Linked DNA regions of Homo sapiens: region 1 is linked to region 2. The links are contacts of gene promoters, found by promoter capture Hi-C in human tissues and cell types (Jung and others, 2019). All regions are on one chromosome and are shown on one strand. The core of a region is centred on a gene start or on the middle of the fragment in contact, and the rest is flanking DNA. Distances in the headings are between cores, read along the strand shown. Region 1 holds the start of SGTA (small glutamine rich tetratricopeptide repeat co-chaperone alpha). Region 2 holds the start of MKNK2 (MAPK interacting serine/threonine kinase 2).

Region 1 (2,700 bases), core at 46-2,545, 730 kb before region 2:
TCCTTTCTTCCCTTTTTTTGTTTTTGTTTTGTTTTCTTTTGCTTTGGAGGGGCTGGAGGGAGTCTCGCTCAGTCGCCCAGGCTGGAGTGCAATGGCGCGATCTCGGCTCGCTGCAACCTCTGCCTCTCGGGTTCAAGCGATTCTCCTGTCTCAGCGTCCCGAGTAGCTGGGACTACAAATGCCCGCACCACGCCCGGCTAATTTTTGCATTTTTAGTAGATACAGGGTTTCACCGTGTTGGCCAGGCTGGTCTCGAACTCCTGACATCAAGTGATCTGCCCCCTGGCCTCCCAAAGTGCTGGGATTACAGGCGTGAGCCACCACGGCCGGCCTCACCTCCTTTATTTCTGCAAAAGAAATTAAAATAATCCACGCCATTAATCGTGCATGTATTTTGAGTAGGACGAAAATGAATTGGGAGAACATTTCTGGCAACTGTAACTTAGATGGTGATCAGTTTTCTGTCGTCCTTGGAAATGTCTCATCACATGTCTTGAGCAACACCAAGATTAATTTTACATCGGCGTTCATTTTCGCTGTTCCCTGTGCCTGGGGTCCGTTTGGACTTTCCTATCCTTGAAATCCAAATGTAAAGGATGATCTTTCCTACCCATCCCATGCGACTTAGCTCCCAGTGACAATCACACTACCTTCATTTTTTTTTTCTTAGTGTTTGCTGTGAAATTTGTTTCTCTATTTATGTACTAGTTTATTAGTTTATAGTCCGTCTACCCCAATGCAAAATAATGAGAGTAGACACTTTGCTGGTTTTTATGGCTGCTTTGCAATAAATATTGAATGAATATTAGGCACCTGCTGTCTACAAATGGCTCTATACTCACAAACGTCTCACACTGCATGAAAGAATGCATTTGTGGGTGAGTAGATGGGTGGGTGAATAAATGAACAAAGATAGTAAGCGGGTAACACTGACTCCCATTCATTGCGCAGCTGTGACGCTCTGGAGTCCAGGTGTCCAAACGCGGCTGCACCACGTGGCCGGCCCAGCACCACGTGGTCAGCTCGGCGACCGGCTGGAGTCAGCCACTGTTCCACCGTGCACCGCTTCATTCCCGCTCTAGAGGGCAAACCAGACCCGATTTCCGGCCTCCATTAGGTCGCAGAGGTCAGTTGCCCTAACAACCAGCTGGTTCCCGCCTCTACGTTGCGTCACTTCCTTCCACGCCCGCCTCCATCATTAACGCGCCTGTGCAGAAGGGAAGCAACTCCGGGCGCCTTTCTTTTGCGCAGGCGTCGCGCCCTGGGGCCGGGGCCGGGCGGCACCGCGGTGCGCAAGCGCAACCGTCGGTGGGTCGGGGATCGGTCGCCTGAGAGGTGAGTGAGGGGCACTGCGCTGAGCCTGGTGGGTCTGGGGTCTGCGGCTCGGGGCCCACGGGGCCCCAAAGCTCGTAAGAGTTTGGGGATCGTGAGGCCAGGGTCACCGCGACCCGCGGGGTCCTGTGAGTAGGCGGTGCGGAGGGGAAACTGAGGCCGGGCGCCATCGGGCAGGCCCTTCGAGCCCTGATCTCCCTTCCCCAGGCCCCAGGTCCTGGAAATGCTGGTCCGCGGCCTGGTGGCGAGGACGGCGGGAGGGGAAGGCGCCCCGCATGTAGTGAGCGCTCGCTGGGTGTTCGCTGCCGTTCCGCTCTTATTAACCGCCTGGAAACGTCGTCCCTGTGACTCAGGGACCCCCGTTTGTGGGGACTGAAGTCGGAACTCTGGTTCCAGCGCCGCCAGTCCCTACCTGGGTGACCTTGCCCAGCCTCTTGGCTTCTCGGAGCCTCAGTTTTCCCCTCTGTAAAACGGGCGTTGTTCAAAAGTCCCTGCCTAGGAGAAGGAGAGCCGCAGGGTCCAGCGGAATCTGAGAACTCCAAAGAATTAGCAGGCGTTCGTCTTATATCATGTTTAGAGTCTTCTTCTGCATATCGTGCTAGAGGTGGGGGAAATCTGGGATTCAGGACCGTCCACCACCACCTCCCACCCGCTGTGTAAACCTGGGTGAGTCGCCTTCCCTCTCTGAGCAAACTGTTCCTTCTTTCGCAAACGAGTTGTAAAAGCAGATGCCTCGGAGGGTCATTATGAGGATAAACCCACATTCAATTATTTGATCAGGTGCCTGGAACTTGATAAGAGAGAGCTGGCTTGAGAATAGCTGTTTTTGTTATTAGGTGCCAGAAAATTGCAGTGTAGTGTGCCCTTCAGAGGTTGAATGATTGTCCCATTTTCTTTTGTTTCTGTCTCTGATTATTCCTTTTGTCTGCCTTTTCCCTCCCTTGACCAGTGGTTCTCAACCAGGAACAATTCTGTGCCCCAGGGATTCTTGGTGACATTTGTGCTTGTCATGATTTGGGGGACCCCCTGGTTTGGAGTTGGTGGAGGCCAGGGTTGCTGCTCGGCACCCTGCAGTACCCAGGACGGCCTCACCCCAGAAAATGATCCAGCTTTAAATGTCAATAATGCTTTAAAAACCCTACCATACGGGCTGATGACCTGAGGTCAGGAGTTCAAGACCAGCCTAGCCAACGTGGTGAAACCCCGTCTCTACTGAAAATATGAAAATTAGCTGGGCATGGTGGTGTGCACCTGTAATCCCAGCTACTCAGGAGGCTGAGGCAGGAGAATCCCTTGAACCCAGGAGGCAGAGGTTGCAGTGACCCAACATCATGCCACTGCACTCCAGCCTGGGCGACAGAGCGAGAC
Region 2 (2,700 bases), core at 1-2,500:
TGTTTGTGCGTGTATGTGTTCACACGCACACACACGCACCCACATGCACAATAAGGGGGGCTGGGGGACCTGGTTTTCTGTCCCCCCATTGCCAAGAGTCAGGGCAATGCCAGGTGCTGGGCTGGGTTCTGGCTGGGAATTCCCCACAGGCTTCCCCCCAATGCCCCGGGGGTGGCTGAGGCCAGGCCTCCCAGCCCCTGTGGCCTGAGAGCTGTGGCCTTGCAGGCAGGGGCCCTCCAGCTTCAGGTCAGTGGGGCTCCAGCCCCTCTTGAGCTCAGGGCCTGGTTGGGGGATGGTGGGATGGGCTGTGCGAAGCTTCTGGAAACCCCTGCAGAAGAGGAGACCACAGTCCACCCAGCAGGGGAACCCCCACTCCTTGTGTGCCCCAGGCCCGGGGCCTGGGGAGCACTTTGAACCAGGATGCTGTGGGATGGGGGACTGGCAGCTCAGGACAGGCTGATTCTATCTAAGCCTGGTTTGGGGCCCCAGCCAAAATGGGACTGTGTTTTACTTCCTGTCCTGGCGACCATCCACCCCTTGGGCTCTTTCCCAGTGGGTCTCAGGTCCCAGTTCTCCCTGAAATGCTATTCGAGGACAGAGGAAGGGTCCTTCACAGACCTCGGTCCCCACCCTCTACTCTGGTTCCTGCCAACCACAAAGCAAACTCGGGGAGCTCAGTGCTCCCCAGGCAGGGTGGCCCAGGGGAAGAAGAAAGTAGGTGGCGGTGGCTGGTCCCCCAGCACTAGAAGGGAGTGGCTGGGACTCCAAGCGTGCTGGTGGTGCACGAGGGGGACTGCTGGAGCCAGCACTGGAGAACTGCAAGAGGGAGCCATGGCAGGTTCTAGAGCGAGGGCATGAACCAAGGGAGTCGGGGTATACTAGGCCTGGGTTGACAGGCCAAGGGAGTTGCCCTGTGTGGGGCCAGGCGGTAGGACACGGCCCAGGGCCTCGCAGGTCCCACGGGCCCCGCGAGCCTCAGGCGGCAAAAACAGGCCAGCTCCGGGCGCGCCGCAGGGTCGCTGCCTAGGTTCCGCACCGAGACCCCCGTGCGCCGCACTGCGCAGGCGTGCGCTAGCCGTTTCGGACACGCCCCACCGCCGGAGCGCGCAGCCGCACTGGGTTCCCGGAGAGCGCCCTCTTCTGGCTCCGCCCACGTCGTGCGCAGGGGGTGAGGCCGGGCGGAGCCTGCGTCGGGGGCGGGGCCAGAGCAGGTCCGGGCCTATAAAGGTGGCGGCGGCGGCGACGCGCCCGGCTCCTCTCAGCGGCGGTGGCCCAGGTAGAGGGGTCCGCGCTGGCGGCGGCGGCGGCGCTGTTCCCCGCGCGGTCCGCGGAGCGGGGTCCGGGCTGCGCGACGTGGGGCGGCGGCGGCACTGCGGCCCCGGCCCAAGCCCGACCCCGGTGAGTGCGAACCCCAGGGCGGCCCCGAGGACACCGACCCGGTAGCGGGAAACGGGCCCCGCGGAGCCCTCGCCGCCCCCGCCCGGTCCGCGCTCCTGGCAGGCCGGGCTCCGCTCACCGCCCTCCCTTTGTCTGCTCCCGCCCGCAGGGTCCCCTCCTCGGCCGCCCCCCGCCCGGCCGCCCGCCCTCGGGCCTCCCCCCGGGCCCTCGGTCCCCTCCCCCGCTGGCGGGGCCCGGACAGAAGATGGTGCAGAAGAAACCAGCCGAACTTCAGGGTTTCCACCGTTCGTTCAAGGTGAGGCCCGGGGTCGGTTTGGGGGCGCTCCGGGCTGGACCACCGGAATGGCCGGCGTGGGGGGCGCGGGGCCCGCCCCTAAGATCGGCTCCCGGGGCTCGTGCCTGGCCCCCGCCCTACACCCGGGGCTGCCCGGGCCGGCCGTGCGCTGAAGCGGGGTCGGTGTGCGAGGATGGGGGTTCAGCAGGCCACAGTCCTCTCTCCAGCCATGGCCGCCGGGTCCTTCCTCCAGGACCCCCAAGTGAGGCTGGGAGCAGGAGCCCCCTCCGGGTCAGGGCACCAGGCTGTGTGTCCCCTGCAAGCCCCCGCCGGGTATGTTCTGGGGGGTCAGCAGGCTGCAGTCCTGTCCCAGTCGCTGCATGTGGCTTATGGGGGGTGTCCCCTGCAAGCTCCAGCTGGTTGTGCCCTGGTGGGGACGGGTCAGCGGGCCACAGTCCCATTCCCACCTCCATGTGGCTTCTGGGGACTTTCTTTCAGAATCCCCAGGCCGGGCTGGTCAGGTGCACCCACCCCCAGGGGGCCTGTGCCGTGGGGGAGGGGATGGGATGTCCCCTCAGCCCTGCACTTCGCAGACACCCCAGGCCCAAGTGCTGTTTCCTGTCGGAGCGGGAAGTTTCTGCGCAGCCCGGGTGGTGACTGCTGTTGAGTGCTGGTTTCAGATGAGCAAATCTTGGGGGGGAAGGGGAGGGCAGGTGCTGGGCAGGGGCCCCGCAGGACCTGGCCCAGGGGACGCAGTGATGTCAGCCGGCCCGCCCCACCCCTCAGGCCGGGGTTATGTAATCGCTTCACTGGGCTTCCTTGGGCAGGGACCTGTTGCCCGGTAGGGAAGGCAGGACTGGAGAGAGGAAGAGAGAGTGTGAGTGTATGTGTGTGTGTTTGTGTGTGTGTGTGTCTCTGTCTTGTGTGTACACACAACGCGGTGCTCCAGGGTGGGAGGAGCAAAGAGAGACTGGGAAGAATTCCCAGGTCTGTCCAGCCAGTGCCCCAGGGCAGCACTCCACCCCTGC

Evidence for each region. Contacts are between HindIII fragments. The study calls those that stand out against the background at their distance.
Region 1: a contact is called between the fragment with the promoter of SGTA here and the fragment with the promoter of MKNK2 in region 2, in 1 of the 25 tissues and cell types used here (dorsolateral prefrontal cortex).

What each region holds. Positions count from the first base shown.
Region 1 is chr19:2,781,868-2,784,567 of GRCh38, reverse strand. It overlaps SGTA (small glutamine rich tetratricopeptide repeat co-chaperone alpha), which reads left to right and starts at 1,295. Exons shown (of 12, transcript NM_003021.4): 1 at 1,295-1,335. RefSeq lists enhancers at 864-933, 2,430-2,529 and a silencer at 1,324-1,373. The HindIII fragment of the contact is 32,124 bases long and covers 1-2,700 here.
Region 2 is chr19:2,049,794-2,052,493 of GRCh38, reverse strand. It overlaps MKNK2 (MAPK interacting serine/threonine kinase 2), which reads left to right and starts at 1,250. Exons shown (of 14, transcript NM_199054.3): 1 at 1,250-1,398; 2 at 1,547-1,693. The coding sequence starts at 1,643. RefSeq lists silencers at 1,076-1,615, 2,346-2,535 and enhancers at 2,106-2,165, 2,342-2,700. The HindIII fragment of the contact is 30,775 bases long and covers 1-2,700 here.